Linked DNA regions of Homo sapiens: region 2 is linked to region 1. Evidence: promoter capture Hi-C in human tissues and cell types (Jung and others, 2019). All regions are on one chromosome and are shown on one strand. The core of a region is centred on a gene start or on the middle of the fragment in contact, and the rest is flanking DNA. Distances in the headings are between cores, read along the strand shown. Region 1 holds the start of FLT3 (fms related receptor tyrosine kinase 3). Region 2 overlaps PAN3 (poly(A) specific ribonuclease subunit PAN3).

Region 1 (6,035 bases), core at 1,146-3,645:
TGCAGTGGCATGATCTCAGTTCACTGCAACATCTGCTTCCTGGGTTCAAGCAATTCCCCTGCCTCAGCCTCCCAAGTAGCTACGACTACAGTGCCACCATGCCCAGCTAATTTTTGTATTTTTGTTAGAGATGGGGTTTCACCATGTTGGTCAGGCTGGTCTCCAACTCCTGACCTCAAATGATCCACCCGCTTTGGCCTCCCAAAGCGCTGGGATTGCAGGCATGAGCCACAGCGCCCAGCCAATCAGTTTCCTTTAAGACAGTAATTGAGCTTTAAATAGAAGGTAGTGTGTTAGGTCTTGGCCATTGGAAGCTCGCTTTTCTCCCCATAACCAGCCTGTTTCATTGCTTTATCTCCTCATGTTTCACTTATTTCAGGCCATCTTCCTTCACTTCTGTTTCTGACCTAAGGTAGACACAACACTCTTTAAAAAAATTTTTAAACCCCCAGCAGCTACACAAAAACTTAAAAAATTTAAAATTGAGGTAAAATACACATACATAAAATTTACCATCTTAACTTTTTGTTTTTGTTTTTGTTTTTGAGACAGAGTCTCACTCTGTCACCCAGGCTGGAGTGCAGTGGTGTGATCTCAGCTCACTGCAGCCTCTGCCTCCCGGGTTCCAGTGATTCTCCTGCCTCAACCTCCCAGGTAGCTGGGATTACAGGCATGCGCCACTACGCCTGGCTAATTGTTGCATTTTTGTAGAGATGGGGTTTCACCATGTTGGCTAGGCTGGTCTCGAACTGCTGACCTCAGGTGATCTGCCCACCTCGGCCTCCCAAAGTGCTAGGATTACAGGCATGAGCCACCGCACCCAGCCTTAGCCATTTTTAAGTGTACAGTTTAGTAGCGTTAAGTACATTCACATTGTTGTGCAACCAGTCTCCAGAACTCTGCTCATCTTGCAAAACTGAAACTCTGTATCCATTAAACACTGGCTCCCCATTTCCCCCTGCCCCCAGCCCATGGTAACCACCATTTAACTTTCTGTCTTTATGAATTTGTAATGGGATACAGTATTGTATTTTTTGGGACTAGCTTATTTCACTTAGCATAATGTCAAGATTCATCCATATTTTAGCTGTATCAGAATTTCCCTCCTCTTTAAAGCTGAAAAATACTCAGTCGTATGTATATACTGCATTTTTGTTTATCATTCATCTGTTGTGGACATGGGTTACTTCTGCCTTTTGACTACTGTGAATAATGCTGCTTTCAACACGGGTGTACAGACATCTCTTCAAGACCCTGCTTTCAATTCTTTTGGCTACATGGCCAGAAATGGAATTGTTGGACCGTATTTTTTTTAATTTTTTGAGAAACCTCTATAGTGTTTTCCATAGTGGCTGCACCATGGTAGACACTTCTAAAGTTTCTGCCATACCCTAGGGGAAAGAATTATTGTACTGTAGACAACATCTAAGGAAAAGAACTGTATGGCCAAGAGTAAACAGTCAATTTTCATGCTTTATTAGAAAATAATTAAAATAATTAAGAGCGTGGAATTCCTAGAATTGGGAGAGACATTATGAACCATTTGGTCCATCCCTTTCCTTTACGATGAGTAAACAGAGGTTTGTGGAGGTCAAACGGCTAGTTAAGTAAGGGAAGAACCAGAACTGGCATCCAGAGCTTTCCAATCCTCAACTTATTGCAAAGAAAATAATAATAATTTTCAACTCGAAAAATTATGCGATGAAGAACAAGAACTATTGAGCGGATGATTCGCAACATCCTCTGGGATGTATTTTCTGTGTGTTTTGTTTTGAAGGCTGTTTGTTAACCTCCCTAATTGCCTTGGTTGACATTGAAACCCTGCCTGTTTTTCTTGATCCCGCCGCTGACTGGGTCCTGAGCATCCTAGGAGATGGAGGCAGAGACAAAGGAAATCAGTCCACAATTAAGAATGGAATGGTTCTTAATGGAATGCTCGCCTGTGCGCTGGCGGGAGTTGCCAGCGTGCCGAGCGGATTCAGCGCCTTTCTCAGGGCCTCAAAGATCCCAGCGCACTAGGAGGGTGGTTTGTGGCTCCCTGCAGTCCCCACGCCCCGGATCCAAACGACAGAGTTCGGGGACTCACAGGGGCAGCAAGGCGGCAGAGCCGCGGAGCCAGTGCAACTTCTCCGGCGGGACCGCGCCCAATCTTCCCCGCCGCAGTCGGGGAGCCCCGGGGGCCGCCGAGCACAGGCTGCGGACCGCGGCGGGCACGTGGGCTCGGCTGCAGCGCTGCGCCAGGCACCGGCTGCTCGGCTCTGCCCAACCTCTCCGCTCCCGCCTCGGTCCCTGCCTCTGGGGAGAGGGTTCCTCCCCCCTTCCACTTTGCACCAGTCCGAGGGAATTTGCGGTCGGTGACGCGCATCCTTAAGAGAGCCACCTGCAGCGCGAGGCGCGCCGCTCCAGGCGGCATCGCAGGGCTGGGCCGGCGCGGCCTGGGGACCCCGGGCTCCGGAGGCCATGCCGGCGTTGGCGCGCGACGGCGGCCAGCTGCCGCTGCTCGGTAAGGCCCCGCTCGCTCGCTCGCAGCCCCTCGCGGTCCCTCAGCCCCCACCCCGCAGTGTGGACCCGGGCGCGCGCCTCCTCCGGCCCAGCCGCCTCGCTCCTCCCCGCGCTCGCTCCTTCCATTGCCTCCCGCGCCCCTCCCCTCTTTCGCGCCCTCCGGACTCGCCCACTACTTGCCTGCGGCCCCGGCGTTTCCCACCCCGCGTCCTCTTCCCTCTTCTCCGAAGTCTCTCCTCTGGCTCGGGCCGCGGTCCCGAGTGGCGGCCCGGACTTCGCAGACGGCCTCGCCGAGGCGCTGCGCCGGGTCTGGGGCAGCTCGGCCCGCGCGCTCGGGTGCTGGGCCGTCCGTGGGAGTCTGCGGCCGCGAACTCGGCGCCAGGTGGCCAAGGACCTCTCCTGGCCCGGCCCTTGGATACTGTAGACACCTGGGTGTCGTCTTTAACTCTTCTTTTGAGGTTTTGATTTATGGAGGGAACTCTGATGGGAAAATGCGTCCGCGTTCTCCCCTAGAGCGAGTCATCCTCAATAACGATACCCCCCAGCCCCGCCGAATTTTGGTTGGATCAACGAATAGTTTACCTAGGAAATATTATGCAAACAGATTTACATATTAAAATACTAGCTGTCCCTTTCTTCTAGTCTCTTCTTATCCTGGCATAAACCCCAAAGGGGTTTTCAAGGACTCCGAGGACTGTCCCCAAAGAATCTGCTGGGTAGCATAGTTGTTATTGAAAAAAAAAATCTTCCCATCGGTTCGCGTCAGCTTTCTATTTGGAAAGATGAGAGGACTGAATCGAATTTGGGTTGAAGGCGACAGAGTTCTGGGTGCCCGGCAGCTCCGGTCCCTGTCCTAGGTCTGCAACCTTGGGACTGACACTCACCTCCCCCGGCCTCCGCGTCCTCATCTGTGCAGTGAGGGAGTCCGTCCGAGTCCCCTTCAGCTCTGAAATGCTAGGACTTGAAGTCTCTGTGGTAAATAGAGAAAATGCTTGCAATATAGAAGTGCAGGAATTATATCCAATAGCTTTTGTTACAAATAATTCTGAAATATAAAAAGTAAAAAATGGAAATCGGGGGAAAAGAGTTGAAAAACAAAGACATTTTAGTTCTTAAATAGTTATCTTTACTAGTTAGTAAATCTGTAATTTCAAATGTGTAGTACAATATGTTTTCCAGATTCCGTTAATACAAAATGTTAGCTTTCTATTATGTATGATATTAAGTAGTAAGTGCATTTTTCAGAAGCATAATGGGCTTTCTAAAGGTATAAGCATCAATACTTGCAACGATATTTAAGCTGCATGGAATTCTTTTCTATTTAGGAAAGAATTCAGAAATTTCTATGTCTCTCTCTCCAGATATTTCTAAATGAAGTATAATTGGCACACAGTAAATATGCACACATCTTAAGAGTACAATTTCATTAGTTTTCACATATGTACGTGCCCAAATAACCACGATCAGACTGAGATATAGAGCAATTCTAGCTCCACCCTCTCTGTCAGTACCCCCTCCCCAGGTAGCCACTATTCTGACTTCTGATGCCATGGATTGCTTTTGCCTATGTTTGAACTTCATGTAAACCAAACCATCATCGTGTGCTCTTTTATGTCCACCTTCTTTTACTCAACATTATAATAATAAGATTCAACCTTGTTCTCTGTAGCAGTGTTTTTTTTTTTAATTGCTGGTACCATTCCGTGGTATGAATAGATCTTATAATTTATTTTATCCATTATGTTCACGAAGCACATGGAAGTTGTTCCAATTTTGTGTAATTATGCATAGCACTGCTGTGAACATTGTTTTATATATGGTGGACATAAACACCAGTATAAAGGATTATGCCCACAAGTAGAATTCCTGGATCATAGGGAAGGGATATGTTCAGGTTTGGTAGATACCGTCAAACGGTTTTCCACAGTGGTTACACCAATTTCCACTCCCACTAGCAGTGTATGGCAGTTCCAGTTCCTCACATCTTTGCCAATACTTTGTATTATGGATTTTCTTGAATAAAGAAGGATAAAGTGAGAAGCTTAAACATGAGAACTTTAAAATGGTTAATAGCCTTAAATTCTTTGAATTAGAACATGGGATCCCAATTTCCCTTATATTGTAAACACTACTTTTTTTTTTTTTTTTTTTTTTGAGACGGAGTCTTGCTCTGTCACCCAGGCTGGAGTGTAGTGGCGCGATCTCAGCTCACTGCAACCTCCGCCTCCCAGGTTCAAGCGATTCTCCTGCCTCAGCCTCCTGAGTAGCTGGGATTACAGGTGCGTGCCACCGCACCCAGCTAATTTTTGTATTTTTAGTAGAGACGAGGTTTCACCATGTTGGCCAGGCTGGTCTCGAACTCCTGACCTTAGGCGATCCACCCACCTCAGCCTCCCAAAGCGCTGGGATTACAGGTATGAGCCACCACACCCGGCCATGCCCAGACTTCTATTCATCATTTATGAATAATGATGAAGCTTTCTAAGTGGCATTTGAAGGAGAGGAACATGTTCCCAATGGGCTTTTCTGCATTATCTGCTGATACTGGACAGAGAGAAGTATTTCAATATTTTAAGAGCTATGATACTACCTTTTTCATTAGTGTTAAAAAAAATTCGTATTCAAAGCCTTGAACTGCACATTTGAGTTGCCATTCTTTGCTCTTGTTGCTTATCTTAGTTTATTTGCCTTCTTGGAAACTCCTAGCCCAAGGGGGAATGATTCAGGAGAAAGTGGAGGGAAGGGACACTCAGCAAAGCTTGGTTTGGATTGGATGTGAGCCCAGACCTGCCGACCTGACATTAATGTCCCCTCTGACTCTGAAACTCTAGTTCTAATTTTTGCCATTATATAGGTGTAGATTGGATATTCATTTCTTTTTAGGTACTTCACGTCTATCTATAGTAAATTATCCTCTTAGGTTTAATTGTGAACTTCTTGCCTTACATTAAAAATGGATTAACTTTTTATAACTAAGAAGGCACTTTCAGTAACTCTTAGCTATTGGTAAATATTTGTTATTGGATTCTCCTGTTGTTTAAACTGAAAAACAATCAGGCAATGAGATATTAAATGGGAAGGAGGAAGACTTACTTATATTCCAAGGGAAGACTTCAGATAAGAAAAATGAAGAGAAAACATGCATTAGGAAGAAAAAATCTGTTTTTATTTAACAAACTTTAATTGAATACCCATTTTTTTCCTTCCTTCCTTCTTTCCTTCCTTCCTTTCTTTCTTTCTTTTTCTTTCTTTCTTTCGACAGTCTCCCTTTGTCATTGAGGCTGGAGTGCAGTGGTGTGATCACAGCTCACTGCAGCTTCAACCTCCTGGGCTCAAGCAAGCCTCCTACCTCAGCCTCCTGAGTACCTGGGACCACAGGCACGTGCCACCACACCTCATTAATTTTTTGAAAAATTTTTTGGTAGAGATGAGATCTCACTGTATTGCTCAGGCTAATCTTGAACTCCTGGGCTCAAGTGATCCTCCCAAAGTGCTAGGATTACAGGTGTGAGCTACCGTGCCTGACAGAATAC
Region 2 (6,035 bases), core at 984-3,483, 190 kb before region 1:
TAACTACTATTATCAAAGTTTTTTCATACATTTACTTTTGGTATTTCTGCTTGTGTAAATGCTAGTATATGATCTTTACTCATGACCCTAATGGAATTTGGCAGTAATATTTTAGTGAGGTCTTTGTAAAGCATAAATACTGATCCTTAGTCTATCAACTTGTCTTGTTATGGTTTTCACTTTATTTTTGTTATTTTCAATGTACTTTATTTCATTAATTGATACATAATTCATTAAAATATGTTTACAACTCACTGAAGGCTCAAACATTCAAATCATTTACCAGACAATTTCTGTCATTATTTCTACCAAAATAAGCTTATATAAAATCTTAATTTTGTATAATCAATCTGGCCATCCTTCCCTTTTAATTTATCACACTCTTTTCAAACTTAGAATATTGTCACACTTCAGATTTGGGGTATTATTTACTACTAGCTAGTTCATGATGTGAAACAGAATTTTCTTCAAATTTTCAATTATCCTAATATTCATTAAATGATCTTTGATGAATTTAATATTATCCTAATATTCATTAAATGATCTTTGCTTAAGGCAACTGTCCATGGCTTATTCCATATTACCTACTTGTCAATGTTTGTTCTGGTTCTACGTATTTTTAACTACTGGTACTCTGATACTATGCTCTAAAATCTGACAGAATTATTTTCTACATATTGCTCTCAAGAAAAGGTTTTTCCCCTAACATAAATAAAGGGAAAATAAATATATAACTCATACTGAATTAGTTCAATGATACATATAGTCTTGTGCAGTCTTTTTTCTTTTTTTGATACAGAGTTTTGCTCTTGTTGCCCAGGCTGGAGTACAATGGCACAATCTCGGCTCACTGCAACCTCTGCCTCCTGGGGTTCAAATGATTCTCCTGCCTCAGCCTCCGAAGTAGCTGGGATTACAGGCATGTACCACCACGCCCGGCTAATTTTGTATTTTTAGTAGAGATGGGGTTTCTCCACATTGGCCAGGCTGGTCTCAAACTCCCGACCTCAGGTGATCCGTGCACCTGGGCCTCCCAAAGTGCTGGGATTACAGGCGTGAGACACCGAGCCTGGCCAGTTTTGTGCAGTCTTAATGTAGGTTATTGACAATACTCCTTATAGAGTTTTAAGGAAGTTAAAGGAAGGCAAAGTAGTGCTTAAAAACAAACCGTAACATTTTCCCTGAAAGGTTACCACACTGTACATTAATAGTTCTAAATCATGTGCTACAGTAGATATTTTTTCCTCTAGTACTTATAATTTAGGAAAGTTTAGACCAAGAGTCAGTAAATGTTTTCTATAAAGGGTCAGACGGTAAATGTTTTAGGTTTGGCTTATTGTTTATTTTACAACTCTTTAAAAATGTAAAACTATTCGAGGCTCTCACGCTTTAAAAAAATAGGCCATAGAACGGATTTGGCCTGCAGGCCATGGCTTACCAGCTCCTGGTTTATACATAAACCTATACAGAGACTACATTTACTCCTGGAGACCAGTTCTAAACTTCATAATGCCAAGTAATTCATAAGGGAACTGTCTTCTTTCTTTTCTCTGTAAATTTTGTCTTTCCCAATCTTTTCTTTCTTTTTTTTTTGAGACGGAGTCTCGCTCTATCGGCCAGACTGGAGTGCAGTGGCCCAATCTCGGCTCACTGCAAACTCCGCCTCCCGGGTTCACGCCATTCTCCTGTCTCAGCCTCCCGAGTAGCTGGGACTACTGGTGCCTGTCACCATGCCCGGCTAACTTTTTTAATTTTTTAGTAGGGACGGGGTTTCACCGTGTTAGCCAGGATGGTCTCGATCTCCTGACCTCGTGATCCGCCCGCCGTGGCCTCCCAAAGTGCTGGGATTACAGGCGCGAGCTACTGCGCCTAGCCTTTTCCCAACCTTTTCTAAAACATAATGCTGCTGGGCGTGGTGGCTCACGGCTATTATCCCAACACTTTGGGGGTGGGTGGACTGCTTAATCTCAGGAGTTTGGGACCAGCCTGAGCAACATGGTGAAATCCCGTATCGACCAAAAGGACAAAAATTAGCTGGGTGTGGTGGCGTGTGCCTGTGGTCCCAGCTATTCAGGAGACTGAGGTGGGAAGGAGGACCACTGCAGCCCTGGGGAGTCAAGGCTGCAGTGAGCCATAAGTGCGACTGCACTATAGCCTGGGTGACAGATCAAAACCCCGTTCCAAAAAAAAGCTCACCTCACCTCTCAAATAAATTTATGATCTATTTTTTATCTACTTAATTCATCTAATCATCAAATTCACCATTTATAACAGCTGGACCTGCTAGTAACTGATGTCACTAGTATTGTGCTTTTATTATTTACTACTTGATTATAAAACCTAGAGTTAGGCCGGGTGCGGTGGCTCATGCCTGTAATCCCAGCACTTTGGGAGGCTGAGGCGGGTGGATCACGAGGTCAGGAGATCGAGACCATCCTGGCTAACATGGTGAAATCCTGTCTCTACTAAAAATACAAAAAATTAGCCGGGCATGGTGGTGGGTGCCTGTAGTCCCAGCTACTTGGGAGGCTGAGGCAGGAGAATGGCGTGAACCCGGGAGGCGGAGCTTGCAGTGAGCCTAGATGGCGCCACTGCACTCCAGCCTGGGTGACAGAGACTCCGTCTCAAAAAAAAAAAAAAAAAAAATCTATAGTTAATAATGATTTGATAACACCCAACATAACTCACAATGATTCGGAAGGGGTTCAATTTTTAAAAAATAAACACAAAATTATTTTTTTGCTTTTTACCATTCACTGTTTTAAGCGGCATAACAAAACCACATGTAAATAAAACATTGCATAAAGGAGGGAAGCAGTCATTTTGTGATACTTTATCATAATAAAAAGATCCACAATAAAACATTCTAAAATTATTCATGAAGGCCAGGCGCAGTGGCTCACGCCTATAATCCTACCACTTTGGGAGGCTGAGGCAGGCGAATCACTTGAAGTGAGGAGTTCGAGACCAGCCTGGCCAACATGGTGAAACCTTGTCGCTACTAAAGATTAGCTGCGCATGGTGATGGGTGCCTGTAATCCTAGCTACTCGGGAGGCTCAGGCAGGAGAATCACTTGAACCCGGGAGGCAGAGGTTGCAGTGAGCCAAAATCAGGCCACTGCACTCCAGCCTGGGCAACAGAGCAAGACTCTGTCCTCCACTGCCCCAAAAAATTATTCATGCAAGTATTGTAAAAATCCTCCCATTGTAGAAAATGTTATTAATAAAACGTCTTACAGGCTACTTTAAGAGTACATCCTGATTTCTTAAGTTTCCTAGTATTTGTAGAAGATACAACTCTATACAAATTATAGGCAGAATTATGATCTTAAAAAATCTAGATACAAATTACCTTGTTAAGACAAGAAATTATATGACTGAGGTCAATCCAGGGAGCACCTGCTTCTGTCACCTGATGAAAAAGATGATCCCTAAAGAGTTTCAACAGATAACGGTCTCCAGTCTCTGACCAAGTGGGATCCTTCTGAAACCTGGGGGAAATGAACATTTTACCTCAGTAACTCATGCTGTATGGTCTGTGGCCATATGTCTATTTTTTAGACTCCAAACTAGTTTTACTTTTTCCCAATAAACAAAAAATTGGGAGGGAGTCTGGTACAGTGTTTTTAAAAAATAATCTAACTGAACTAGTAAGTCTATGAATTCCAGTTTTCAGTTAGCAAATGTCAGGGGGAAATCATCCCTTATGCATTCCTATTTTACATTACCTCCTTATTTCAGCCCCTACCATTAGATAAAATGGAAAAGGTAAAAATATCTTTAAATATCTTCTCTTCTCTTCCTCCCACTCTGTAGGTTACAGAATAGAGAAAGGTCAGGTACATCTTCTACTTCACCAATAAGCATAAAATAGAAAAATGTTTAGGAAACAAAAAGGAAGTAAATATCGGTTTCCTACCATTCCATGTGAAAACAAGCTGTGAAGAACCAGATGACCACTGTGAGTTTTCAGTGACCTTAGGAACTTACAGTCTAGTAGGAAACAGACGTTATTCAAATAATCAAAGAAAGCTGTAACTGCATATTTACATAATGCTCCTAAAAGGAATATGATATAAAACGAAGATGAATTTATCTAGGGCCGCGCCTGGCTGATAATCCCTTTTCTGTATCATTTAAAGTCGTTCTGCTTCCCAGATCAAACTGTGATACAATTCCCATTAAGAAAAAATAGGTAAAAACAATGATTACAGAAAATGTATAACATTAAATTTATGTAAAATTATGTGTGAATATAAGTATATAAAGCAATTAAGGAAGGTTTTCCAGAGGAAGTAGTGGCTGCTCTTCCCAGAAGAAGGATGCTCCTTCGTCAGAGATCGGTATTTGCATGGACATTGAAGAAACTTAAGGAAGGTCATGTGTCTGAATGGGTTGGGGGAGAAAAGAGAAGAAAAGACGACAGAATACACGGAGAGGGAGGGTAAGGGCAAGGAAAAGGAACAGAGTGAAGACAAGAACAAAGAATGGGGGATGGGGGGAAGAAAATTAAATAAAAGGCAGATTTGACGCCAGGATGAGAAGTAGGTAGGGATCAGACTACACAGCTTAGGACATGTTTTAAAACTGGGTCTTTATTCTAAGAACCAGAGGAGAAGTTCACCATATGGTTTTAGCACAATCATATATGTATGTTTGCAAAGGTCACTCCAAGGACTTCCAATTAAAATGAAGATTAAACACCCATTTATCTCTGCTCCCTTTCAACAGCCCATCAAATTGACAGTAAATACCTAAAAAAGGGTATAAACACAAGGACAAAGGGATCAGAAAAAGCAACAATAGTGAACAAGAGATAATCATGAACATCTGGAATGCAGAGGCAGATAGGTAAGTGGGATGACTTAGTAGACCTGACAAAACTGAACCCTAATTCTACAAGGGATGTGGGAAGAGGGTGCCCACAGGAATCAAGCAACCCACACTGGCGTAGCTCAGAAACTGAAGCCACAAAGGACTACTAAAAGTGCAAGTTTGGACTGAGGCTGAAAACAGGAGAACTGAGAAAAGGTTCTATAAACAGCAAACAGATAACCCATCTCTCAACCCCACTGCCACCTGTCTGGCAAAAATCTGGAGGTTTTACTTTCTAAAAAGGGTGAAAGAGAGAAGCTTGAGCCTCAGGGATGCCAAGCAAACCAGAAGATGAAGAGCTGAGGAGTGCTGGATGACACCCTATTCAACAAATGCTTTCCCTCTGTGTGGTTCCCAAACCCTGGCTGTCAGGCTTATACCACAGACAGTAGAGGTTGGAAGATTCTTTTCAGGGGATGCTGACCTGTCCAAGACAAATGATAATCCTTGACAGTCTATCAAAAACAAACAAAAATCATGTATAACAACATCACACTGCTTTATCACAGAGAAAGGTTCAACATTCTATAATCCCTGCCCTCACAAAGGCTTCCCATTGGCTTTTTAGGACCTTATTTTTAATACAAATGGACAGCTAAGTATCAGAAATCTTTTGTTACAAAACAAAACAAAATAAAGCAAACTCTTGTTTCCTATGAGATACTGCAGGGAATGGAACAAAACTTAAAACTAAGACAAACAAAAACCAACCACCAGCAAAAATCTATTAACTGACGGCCTCAGAGAAACAAGAATTAGATGGTACAAGACAAACATTCAGAAAACAGAATTGTTCTTGGAAAATAAAAATATGATAGCAGAAATTTAAAAATTCAAAGAATTAGAAAAAAAACTTTAATTTTAGAAAAATGCAGTTGAGATAACTGCCCAGAAAGTAGAACAAAAAAAATTAGAGATAGAAAATAGAAGAGAATATTTGAAAATCAATTGCAAAGGTCTAACATCTGAGCGATGAGAATTCCAGGACAAGAAGTTATTAAAGAAACAATGAAGACCATGTCCCAGAACTGAAGGACGTTAAGTTTCCAAGATTAAAGGGGTTCACCTGTTAATCCATCATTATGACTCAAAACCTACACCAAGGAACATCACTGTGAATTTCTGAACATCAGTGACTAAACAAACAAACAAACAAACAA

The links. Contacts are between HindIII fragments. The study calls those that stand out against the background at their distance.
Region 2: a fragment that was not itself captured here is called in contact with the fragment with the promoter of FLT3 in region 1 in 3 of the 25 tissues and cell types used here (aorta, liver and mesendoderm cells).

What each region holds. Positions count from the first base shown.
Region 1 is chr13:28,096,936-28,102,970 of GRCh38, reverse strand. FLT3 (fms related receptor tyrosine kinase 3) reads left to right here and starts at 2,395. Exons shown (of 24, transcript NM_004119.3): 1 at 2,395-2,503. The coding sequence starts at 2,461. RefSeq lists an enhancer at 1,982-2,111 and silencers at 2,222-2,281, 2,402-2,561. The HindIII fragment of the contact is 18,739 bases long and covers 1-4,761 here.
Region 2 is chr13:28,285,440-28,291,474 of GRCh38, reverse strand. It overlaps PAN3 (poly(A) specific ribonuclease subunit PAN3), which reads right to left. Exons shown (of 19, transcript NM_175854.8): 18 at 3,353-3,491. It overlaps LOC124903140 (a long non-coding RNA gene), which reads left to right and starts at 3,488. Exons shown (of 2, transcript XR_007063735.1): 1 at 3,488-6,035. RefSeq lists enhancers at 1,420-1,919, 1,920-2,421. The HindIII fragment of the contact is 6,716 bases long and covers 1-5,591 here.